2 separate regions of the Homo sapiens genome follow, and region 2 is linked to region 1. The links are contacts of gene promoters, found by promoter capture Hi-C in blood cells and fetal thymus (Javierre and others, 2016). All regions are on one chromosome and are shown on one strand. The core of a region is centred on a gene start or on the middle of the fragment in contact, and the rest is flanking DNA. Distances in the headings are between cores, read along the strand shown. Region 1 holds the start of REEP1 (receptor accessory protein 1). Region 2 has its middle 27 kb from the start of KDM3A.

Region 1 (5,785 bases), core at 725-3,224:
AAAGAGTTTTAGAGCTTTTTATATCCACAGTTTCCTGGAGAGATCACAGCACACCATGCAGGTCCACTCAGGGCCAGGGTCTGTCACAGAGAGAGGGAGAGAGGGGAATTGTGGACAAACATCTTTATCATGGTTTCTGAGGGAAGGAAAGAGTGAAATAAGGCAAGCAGATATAGGATAGGCTAATTTGGATAATTTCAGCGGGTTCTGAAGTACAGGGGCTGTAACTAGTTGTTTGGTGCCTAGCCCTGGACAGGTGTATAGTGTCCCGCGTGTGAGAGCCTGCTAACGGAAGTGGTTGGGGGTATGCAGTTAATAGACTGCTGGAGAAGGGGAACTGACCAGCCTCCAGCCTGAGCCTCAAAACTGGGTCAAGGCAGCATGAAAAAACTGCTACATTACAGCTATTTTATGGGTTCTTTGGAGACCTGAGATATGAGAGCATGTCTCATCTGCAGTCCCTTTGTTGTCCGTGAAGTCTTTCTTCTGACTATATCAGGCACACGCACGCACAGATTCTGCTACATCTGAGAGTACTAAGCTGTCTCCTGCGCTTCTCACATCTGACACTGAATTATACATGACACCATCATCAGCAAAGGACAGGGCGCTGGGAGCACCACGCAGAACCTAAGCTATTGGAGGGTGGGAAAAGCAGCAGCAGAGCCTAGGAGTAGAGGACAAAGCGTTTCCAGTGTAACAGAATAATGTACTATCTGCGGCCGGGACTAGGGTGAGCAGAGTGAGGCGCTCAGTGAGGGTGCAACATTTAAGAGGTGCCATAAAATTCAGCAACTAAAATACATAATAGGTGGCTCACTCCTGTAATCCCAGCACTTTGGGAGGCCAAGGCGGGCGGATCACGAGGTCAGGAGTTTGAGACCAGCCTGGACAACATGGTGAAACCCCGTCTCTACTAAAAATACAAAAATTAGCTGGGCGTGGTGGCGCACTCCTGTAATCTCAGCTACTCATGAGGCTGAGGCAGAAGAATCGCTTGAACCCGGGAGGCGGAGCTTGCAGTGAGCCGAGATCGCGCCACTGCACCCCAGAGCGAGACTCTGTCTCATAAAAAAACAACAACAACAAAAAAAACCACCATAATATTTAATACGGTATTTTAAAAAATACATAAAAACGTTTATATAGGGTGCACAAGTTCCCTTTTGCCTAAGAGTTCAACGTGGCTCAGCGGGGCACTGGTGCTAAGCAGTCGCAGCTTCTAGTCTCCTCCTAGGGCCCGGAGCAGCCCCCAAGGAAAGGCCTTCCCTAGGAAGAAGTAGCCCTTCAGCCCAGCCTAGAAGAAGGAGCTGAATCAAACCAAGGCAGGACGATGAGGCGTGGCGTGTACTGACAGGGAAGAAGAAACAGCAAATATTTGAGTCCAAGATGCCTGGAGGGAAAAGAGCTAGAGGACTATTTGGGGGAATGGTCTTGGCAACACGGTTCTAGGCAGGTACCACGATCATATAGGGACTCTGTAGAATTTTAAGTAGGGAGGCAAGCGCCCAGGTTTGTTTCTTATGCAGAAAGTGCTGAGCAACGGACAGACTGAAGAGGTTAGGTCTGGATCCAGGTAAACCCTTTATGAGGCTAACGCACTAGCTGAATGAGGGATGACAGCATCCCACCTAGACAGGTGCAGACAGATTCCCGAGGTTCAGGTTCGGACTTCAGTTTCTCCGCTGGAACGCTGAGGGTGGGGCAGCACCCGGGTCCCTGCCCTGCAAACGGGGCCGCTGCAGGGTTCCTTTGGCGGGGCCGGTGCCCCGGGGAGCGCGCAGGACGCGCCCGCCTTCAGCCGGGGGCCAGGGCGAGCGGGACGGGGCGGGCCCGCGGGTGCCCTGACCAGCTCACCGCCCAATCGCTGCGGGCCCGCCGAGCCCCGGGGGGCTGGGGCCGCCGCCGCCGCCGCCAGAACGTGCCGCGGCTGCGCCAACGCGCGAACGCCGGGCAGGGCGGCGGGCGCGCTCAGTCTGGCGGCGGCTGCCGTGAGCTGACTGACGTTCCGGGAACGCCGCAGCAGCCCGCGCCGCCCGCAGCCTAGCCGAGCCGCGCCGCCCGGGCCTCGCCCGCCCGCCTGCCCGCCATGGTGTCATGGATCATCTCCAGGCTGGTGGTGTAAGTGGCCTTCTCCCCCGCGCCCCTCCGTCCCCTCCCTCCCCGCCCCCGGCCCCGGGCTGCGCGCGCCCCTACAGCGCCCGGTCCCAGTGGCTCGGGCTATTAATACCCGGCGCAGCTAAATTTAGCAGGTACAGTAGCCGCCGAGGACGCCTGCGGGCGGACGGGCGGCGCAGGACGCGGCTGCTGCCCAGGAGGCAGCCGGCGCCGGCGGCCGCTTGCGGGGGGCTGGGCCGGGACGGCGAGGGCTGGGGCGCTCGGGGGTTCCGTGGGGGCTGCGTCTCGCCGCGCGCTGGCCGCTTTGTTCCTCAGCTCGGTCGATTTGCAGAGGCCCCGAATGGGCGCACCGCGGACACGCGTCTCTCTCCTTTGGCAGAAATGTGAGGTCGCCCGGCGCCGCGCCCCGCCGCCCCAGCTTTTGTCAGGTGGAAAGGACAGCGCAGACGAACCAGGGGCGCTGCCTGGAGGGTCAGCGCGGAACGGGTGGAGAGGCAGAGGCGGGGCTCCCAGTGGGGTTGGAAAAATCCTCCTTTTTAGGTGTCTGCATCGACAGCGGCAAAGGCAGCTGGGACATGGGAAGACGCATGTGAATCTTGGAGTAAACGCCTGGAGCCCCCGGCTCCGACTCCTTTTGCAGGGGATTGAGAGACAGGGGCAGGTACCTCCAGGAATGCACGGGAAATTTTCAAGTGACAGCCACCCGCATGGTGGCGATGACACCTCCCAGGCCTTGCAGGAGAGCGCAGAGTCATCTAGGGTGAGGTCTGTGTGAAGTCATTGGGGGTGGGCGTGGGGGCCGATTTTCTCCTTCAAGCCCCAGGACCTGTAGGCGTTTGAAGAGCTTCCCCGGTGGATTTATTCTCCTTTGGAGATAGACGTGGCTGTTCCAAGTCCCTGTTCTTCCCTAACCATCCTGGCCTGAGTCAGAACAGATTTGCCACCTGCTGTAGCTAGCAGGGGCTGAAATGGGTGTGGGGAGTCTAAGGCGGGGAGGAGGGTGGCAGGCACCTCGGGCTTTTTCTTTGTCTGAGAACACGGGGCTCTGGACCCCAGTGATTGTGCACCATCACTCCCCACGTTTTGAAACACCACCCATCTCCCTTCCCTTCTTTACTGATTTTCCCTTCCGAAGTGGATCTCAGCATTGTCTCCCGCCACCATTCAGGGCTTTCCTCCCAAAGCCAGTGTCTGTGCCTCTCAGCCCCCAAGTCATTCCGTGAAGGCCTCTCCACAGCTGTTCCTGACTGCGGGGTGTTTGCGCTGCACCTTGAGGTGGCATGTTAAATATTTAGAAGATTTCTGCTGGCAGAGCCGACATGAATAATACAGGAAAGTGGCTGACACGCCTTGCCCAGCCTCATGCCTGACCAACACTGTCTTGCCTTCAGGGTGGTGTTTCCTCTCTGGGATCGATATTGCCAGTGGCTTCTGGGAAGCCCTCAGGGTGGGGCTGGAGAGTTGAGCTGGCCTGGCTGGTGGGCTCTCTGTAGGTCCTGCTGGGCTGGGAGTGAGGGCATCTGATCCTGGGTCATGTGACTATCATTAGTTTTATTAGCACTGGGTCATGTGACTATCATTAGTTTTATTAGCACCTCCCTCACCCCTGCCCTTTTTTTTTTTTTTTTTTTGAGACCGAGTCTCGCTCTGTCGCCCAGGCTGGAGAGTGCAGTGGCACAGTCTCGGCTCACTGAAGCCTCCGCCTCCTGGGTTCAAGCGATTCTCCTGCCTCAGCCTCCCGAGTAGCTGGGATTACAAGCGCCTGCCACCACGCCCAGCTAATTTTTGTATTTTTAGTAGAGACGGGGTTTCACCATGTTGGCCAGCCTGGTCTTGAACTCCTGACCTAGTGATCCGCCCGCTTCGGCCTCCCAAAGTTCTGGGATTACAGGCGTGAGCTACCACGCCCGGCTCCTCCCCCTTTTTTACAATGAGCAACTGATGGGGGTGGAGAGGAGAGGCATATATTTGGGAGGTGTCTCAGGGATGTGCTGTTGCTTTCTAAAACAACCACACTCCCTAGAACCGAGACTTCAGAGAATTTAAATGAACAGCATTATGTGGCCCAAGGAGAGTTGATGGGATTTGGGATTGTTACTTCCACTATCAAGTCCAAAAGGTCAGGGATACCACTTATCCCCCAGTCCCTAATTCCCTGTAGAAACCTAGCATAAGCATATTGATTATGAGTTATGAACATCATTTTTAATAAGCAATACCTGTTTCATGAAGACAATATTTGTTAATTACAGGAAAATTAGAAAAGATAAACTGAAAATCATCCACATTTCCACCACACAGAGATAACTAATAATAATGATGGAGGGCATATTCTTCAAGAAATTTTCCTGTATTGCATATATGTACATATATTTGTAATTCAAGGATATTATTGATTCAGCCCAATATTCTACACTCCACATACCTTGAGGAACTTCTTATCAAGGGGAGGAATACTGTGTTTGGAGTCAGAACGCCCATGGTTCAAATCCCAGTTTTGCCTCTTGCCAGAAGATCCCAGTTCACAACTCAGATCAGAGCAGATGCTAGTCCACAGCTAGTTAACCTCATGTTGCTGTTGCAAAGATTTCCATGACACTTGATATATAAATTGCCAAGCACCACGGAGAGCACTAAATCAATGATGAGTCCCTCCTTCTGTCCTCCCCGGGAACCCTATGAGAGGGGCTCTCAGACTTAATTTACTCCTGTGGTTTTCAAACTGGGTTCCCTGAGGGCCACCCAGCCTGAGCAGATGGGCTCTGGGCTCCTCATCCCTGATTCAACCCAAGCAGTTCCCTTTTTGTTTGTCTTATATATTGGGGTTCTAGATAAAATACAATTCAGAAAAATATATGTGTTTTACTGCTAATAAAAACAACTGATCTAGTCCTCCCCCTCATCTGTAAAACTGCAGAGGAAATATGCCTTGCTCAGGGACACAAGATGAGCTGGTGAAGAAAACAGGCTCTGGATTTTTAGTCCAGTCCAGTGCTTTTTCCACCTTCACTCCCCACTGAGAAAAACATCTCTTTCAAGCTCCCTAGACCTCTGGTATGGGAGCATCCTATGGTTTTATCCGCGAGTCACGTTTTGTATAAGTAATCTTTTCATGGTTTTGTAAGCCTCTGTCACATCAAAGAACATGTAAGGAAGACCTATCACTGTGTTGTGAGGATAGAGAGGGAGTGTCTTCCTGTCTTTGTGTGGTCCCAACCATCCGACCAGAGGTATCACAACAAGCTGATGGCCTCCAGGGACAGCCAGCCAGTGCTCGTGGTTGTCTCTGCTGCTACTGGCCGTGAGCATTTTGAAGAAAGCAATTGTGGCTTGTTTCCCTTTACAACCGCTTTATCCCTGCCATGGGTCTTTCACAAAGTATCTGGCACCTGAATGCACTGAGTGAAGGTTGGTTGTGTTGAAGGAAATCCTAGGCCCTGGGGACAAGCAGAGTGGCTGGCTACTGCTGTCCCCTGGGGACGGAGGTCAGCAGGCATCAAGACAGGCTTGTGCCCACGGGCAAGGCTCTTAGAGTGAGGACCAGTTTGAGATGCTTATTTCTTGCCAGCTCTCTTTCTCCTAACTTCCTTGGCTCAGCCTGTAAAGAATTAAGGAAGAGATACTCAGTGCAATAGCACTCAGAACCAGGTTGATACCTTCATGGGAC
Region 2 (6,024 bases), core at 2,013-4,512, 77 kb before region 1:
GAGTCATTTTGGGAGCTGCATGCTGAAGACAGAAGGAAGTGGCCCTCACCTCATGACTGTTGCCTAATTGAAAGATAAACTAACATTTTGTCCAGGCCATTGTTACTTTGGTTTCTTTTATAGCAATGGAATCTGCATCCTAATGCATGTTTTGTTTTGTTTTTTTCTCTTTCTTTTCCTTTCTCATGGTTGCTTGAGAGCTCTTTCTTACTAATAGAATATAATAATAATTTTTAAAAATTGTTTTATTTATGTAGTATTTTTTAAAGATGGTCTATTAAAAACATATGTTTACCATATGGCCCAGCAATTCCACTTCTAGTTACATTCTCAAAAGAAATGAAAACCGGTACTTGAATGAAAAATTATACACAAATATTTATAAGCAGCACTATTCACAATAGCCAAAAGGTAGAAACAACCCAAATGTTCATCAACTAGTGAACGAATAAACAAAATGAAAAATTATACACAAATATTTATAAGCAGCACTATTCACAGCAGCCAAAAGGTAGAACCAACCCAAATGTTCGTCAACTAATGAACGGATAAACAAAATTCACTATATCCATACAATGGAATATCCTTAGGCCATAAGAGGTAATAAAGTACTGACACGTGCTACGACAGGGATGGACCTTGAAAACAGTAGGCTAAGTGAAAGAAATCAGACACAAAGCCACATGTTGTGTGATTCAATTTATATGAAATATTCAGAATATGACATTCCAAAGAGACAGAAGGAAGATTAATGGTGGCTAGGGGTTGGAAGGAGTGGGCAATGGGGAGTGACAGCTTAGTGGATATAGGGATTTCATAGGGGGTTGTGATGAAAATGTTCTGGAACTAGACAGTGGTGGTGGTTGCACAGCATTGTGAAGGTACTAACAGCACTGAACTGTATACTTTAAAATAATTGAGATGGTGAATTTTATGTTATGTGAATTTCACCATACACACACGCACACACATGCAGCCTATTCAAATGGAGCTGAGAAAGTGTAGAAAGCTGGTTGAGTTCTTTCTCCTTCTGACCAGTTTTCCTTCCTTTTTTACCTTCCTTGTGACTTCCTGTTGGGCAGGGATGGTAACATGTCTAGGGCACATTGCCCCCTTGGCTTTCACCACAAACCACTGGGCCTCCAGTCCTCCTCCCCCTGGCACTTTTTGAGGAAGATTCTGTTTGCCACCGGACTCAGTGCTGGGCTCCTTTTGCATAAGGATCAAGGATCTGGAGCAACAATCTTAACTGCAGAGGTCTGATGTCTAGATGGTCTTCAGAGCCAGATCTGAATAATTTGCCCCTACTAAGAGTTAGGGCTTAAACCTATGCACATTTCAATGGATACTAGGCTAATCCTTTCAGGGGATGTGGTAGACAGAATAATGATACCCTAAAGATGTCTATATCCTAATCCTTGGAACCTGTGAATGTGTCACCTTACATGCAAAAGAGACTTTGCAGATGTGTATAAGTTAAGGATTTTGAAATGGGAAGATTAACCTGGATTATCCAAGTGGGCCTGATATAATCACAAAAGTCTTTTTTCAGATTCAGAAAGATAGATTCAGAAGGAGATGTGATAATGGAAATGGGAGTCATGGAAGAGAAAGAAAGGGAGGGGGAGGGTTGAAGATGCTGCTGACTTTGAAGATGGGGGCAAGAGGTCAAAAACCAAGGAATGCAGGTGGCATTGAAAGCTGGAAGAGACAAGGAAATGGATTCTCCCCTTGAGTCTCCAACAGGAACACAGCTCTGTTGCCACCTTGACTTTAAACATTCTGAGCTCCAGAACTGTAAAATAATAAATTTGTGGTGTTTTAAGCCAAAAAAAAAAAAGATATCCCAGTTGAGCCTTTTCGGTTCCCCCTCAAGAAAATCCTAACACCTTAAAAATATTTTGTCTTTTTTTCTGTATAGCTGTAATAAAAAAGAACTTTTTTTCTTCTAGCAAGTGAATAATATAAATAATAAAGACTGTCATTCATTCATGGTTTGTAACATAATTTGTAAGCTTTATCTTGTGGAGTCTTCAAAATAGCCTTATAAGATAGGTGTAATTATTCCTGTTTTTCTGATGAGAAACTTGAGGCTTCGAGAAGTTAGGAAACTTACCTAAGAGCATGGAGCTACAAAGGAGGAATTAGTGTGTCTTCAAGTTGGTGCATGTGTTTACAGGTCCTGTACTGTTTATGACTCTCAGAGTGAAAAGGTGCCTGTCATCCATAGAGATTATTGACTGCTGCAGCTGCCGCTGGGCACATGCAAGGGGTGAGGGGGCCTCCTGGCAGGCTCTGTTGCTTTGACAGATTTGGGCTGCCAGCTGCTTATTATTGCAGTGTGGTTCCTTTCCTGGAGAAGCTTTCCGGGGGCTCCCACTGGGGGGTGGGGGCTGGGGTCCTGCTCCCTTTCTCTGCCCCCATCCAGGACCTCCTTTCAGTTCCCTGTCGTGGCTACTGCAACCCTAAATTCCTTCTTAAACACTCACCCTTAAATATTTTTCATGTGCATTTTGTACCTCATTAAGGATTTAATCTGAAGTATTTTTGCCTTTGTACCTTTGTGTTGTCTTAGTATGTTTTTTTATTCTGACATTGTATTATTTTATTCACCTTTCAAGTTTTGCTATTTTCTAATTTTATCTTTCCAATCTTTTCATATTTCTGTTTTGAATGTTTTCTTCCTAAACTTTTTATTTTGTATGCAATTTGAACAATTGCATACAATTATTTCTAGCATTTTGTTTTATTTTTAATGTTTTTGGGGGGCTGTTTTTCTTTCTTTAATCTTTTTCTTTTTTCACCCTGCTATACTTTAGCAATCACTATTTTATCTTCAATATTTTTGATCTTCTAGTTTTACTTGTTTCCGTCTTTTTAAAAAATTATTTATGTTTTAAATTATTTAGCTTAGTTTTATAGGCCATTTAAAGAACTTTATATTTAGCTTCTTTATTTTTATTTATTTTATAATTTCTGCTCTTTGCCTTTTATTCCCTTTTATTAACTGAGCATGGCATACTGGCTTTGGGATTTATTTAAAGGTCATTTTGGTACTTTTTGTTGCTGTTCATTTTCATATTTTATATGATTTTAAATTCTTTTAAAAATAATTTTATACTTAAACTGTGCCATTAATTTTCCCAGATGAATGATTAAGCTTCTGGTTTTTCTGTTTTGAATTTGTTTCATGCCTTTGAACCATGATTCTTTCCTTCCTCTTTTTATTTTTTTACTTTTTCCCCTTAGAAACATAGCTTTTCATCTTAATAGTTTTATCTATTTCTTCCTATTCTTAAATTTGACTCTTTACTGTTTGTTTTCATAATGGTTATCAGGAAGTTGGTGGGAAATTGAAAGCTTCGGGAAAAACTCATCGTAAACTGGGGAGATTTATTTGCAGCTATGGCTACAGCTGTCTCGCTGGCTTTTCTTAATAGATTTCACATGCTCTTCAGCACTACTGAAAAAACTTGAAAAGAACAATAAGAGAAATAAATCACCCTTCCTGACACGAGAGACTTCCCGGCTGTGGAGACCTCCTCTCATTTGCCAGAGCTGCGCTGTCGCTGTCCTTCCACTCCTTCTCTCCACCCTCCTAGTGTTCCCACCCCTCCCAAACCTAGGTCAGGACTAGCCCTCAGAACTCTGTATGGAACCAATGAGTTGCATCTCTGGAACTGCATTCTCTGCTAAGCCAGTCTTCCTAGCCTCAACCTCTTTCATCTCCTGGCCTTAACTGCAACCCTCTTCTGCTGTAGCATCTTGAGTTGGGGAGTTCATTTTCATTCTTCATCCTAGAGGAAAGGCCAGTGCTCTTTTTAACCCAAACCTTTCCACCTTTGTGTAAAAACACCTCCTCCTTAGAGACTGGTTCCACTGGCTTGTATCACCTTCCCTCCTTATTCTCACTCATCCACATTCCAGGAAGAATTTAGTTCCTGCTTGACAGTAGTTCTGCAATCATCCCAGGTGATTTCATTGTTGATGTGGATGACCCAATGACTCTTGATTTCCATAGTAAACTCCCAGACTGGTCAATTTTCCTAAGGTTTTTCTAACCGTTAGCTTCTCTAAGGGTGGCTTTACTTAAGATCCATCTTCTTTTTGGCATCTGTGTGGGTGGAATCTTCTTGCCTTATGTTACTGGCATGGATTATTGAGTGGAAACCTTGCAACATCACTTTGGAGTAGTTACTTTTATTAAAACCTACTTTGCAGATGAGAAAACTGAGGCTGAGACTCTAGGAGGAACCATTTGGCAACATTTATCATAATGTAGTAAGCACTTACCCTTGACTCTACAGTTCCATCTTAAAGACTTTGTCCTCCTGGTCTACTCAGGCTCATGTGCACATGCTCAGTGACTTATGTAAAGACGTTCACTATAAGACTAAGAGACTGGTTAAATAAAGTATGATACAACTCTGGGATACTATGCAGCAGGGAAAAAGAAAGGAAGTAGCAGGGAATGATTGTCAGGCCATATTATTAAATGGAAAAGCCAGTGTAAAACAATGTGTATCATTTACTCCAATTGTGTTTTTTTTTTTAAAAAAAAACACATCTGTGTTTTGGCCAGGTGTAATGGCTCACACCTGTAATCCCAACTCTTTTGGAGGCTGATGTGGAAGGATTACTTGAAGCCAGGACCTGAGCAACAAAGTGAGACAACCCTTCTCTACAAATTTTTTTTTAGGCCAGGCGTGGTGGCTCACACCTGTAATCCCATCACTTTGGGAGGCCAAGGCCAGCAGATCATTTGAGGTCAGGAGTTTGAGACCAGCCTGACCAACATGGTGAAACCCCATCTCTACTAAAAATACAAAAAAAATTACCCAGGCGTGGTGGTGGCTGCCTGTAGTCCCAGCTACTCAGGAGGCTGAAGCAGGAGAATCACTTGAACCCAGGAGGCGGAGGTTGCAGTGAGCCGAGATTGTGCCACTGCTTTCCAGCCTGGGTGGCAGAGTGAGACTCCATCTCAAAAAAAAAAATTTTTTTTTAAATTAACTGGGCATGGTGGCACATGCTTGTAGTCCCAGCTACTTGGGAGGCTGAGGCAGGAGGATTATTTGAACCCAGGAGTTCAAGGCTGCAGTGGGCTATGATCACACCACTGTGAGAGAGAGAGAGAGAGAGAAAAGAAAGGGAGAAGAAGGAAGAAGGAGGGAAGGAACAAAGGAACGAAGGAAGGAAGGAGAAGGAAGGAAAGAAAGAAAGAAAAAGAAAGGAAGAAAGAAAGAACGAGAACGAAAGAAAAGAAAGAAAGAGGAAGGAAGGAAGAAAGGAAGGAAGGAAGGAAGAAAGGAAGGGAGGAAGAAAGAAGGAAAGAGAAAGAAAGAAAGAGCAAGCAAGCAGGCTATTTTAGAAAAGAAAATAGACTACTAACTTCAGCTGAGCCCAGCTGACCTACCAGTTCATCGCCTACCCCAGTCTATACCATGTGGAGTAGAAGAATTAGCCAGTCAACCCATGCCATGACGATCGTTGGAACAGAATTTATGACGGAATTGTCAGAAATAATAAATTATCATTTTTAAGCCATTATGTTTAGGGGTGATTTGTTACATAGCAATAGATACCTGATACACTCCTGTACTCTCAAATGCCAGAGAGGTGATATGAGCCTGTGTATTCCATCTGTATATTCCATCCTAGTTCACCCCAGGTGAATGTCATAGCAATTTCCATTCTTAGAGTCTGCTTCCTAGAACTGATTTCAATACCAATCATCAAGTTCCCTGGAAGCGGAACCTGAGATGGAATTATTGAGGGCATGTGATTTGTTAAGGCCACGCCGTCAGAAGAGAGGGAATGAGGAAGCTAGATAACAGGGAGAAGGAGCTAGGCAAGGATGTGGTCTCAGCCTGAGCAGCCTGACCACTCAGGAACCTCTGAAGTGTGAATTGTACTACAGTGCTGATCCTGCCTTGAGTCAGGAAGCTGGCTTTTTTTTTTTTTTTTTTTTTTTTTGAGACAGGGTCTCACTCTGTCTCCAGGCTGGAGTGCAGTGGCGCGATCTCG

What was found. Contacts are between HindIII fragments. The CHiCAGO score rates a contact against its expected background, and 5 or more counts as called.
Region 2: a fragment that was not itself captured here is called in contact with the fragment with the promoter of REEP1 in region 1 in 1 of 17 cell types (total CD8 T cells); the score reaches 5.7 in total CD8 T cells.

The regions. Positions count from the first base shown.
Region 1 is chr2:86,333,815-86,339,599 of GRCh38, reverse strand. REEP1 (receptor accessory protein 1) reads left to right here and starts at 1,974. Exons shown (of 9, transcript NM_001371279.1): 1 at 1,974-2,121. The coding sequence starts at 2,090. The HindIII fragment of the contact is 12,312 bases long and covers 1-5,785 here.
Region 2 is chr2:86,411,402-86,417,425 of GRCh38, reverse strand. No RefSeq gene overlaps it. Among named protein-coding and RNA genes, the nearest start is that of KDM3A, 27 kb to the left of the region's middle. The HindIII fragment of the contact is 200 bases long and covers 3,163-3,362 here.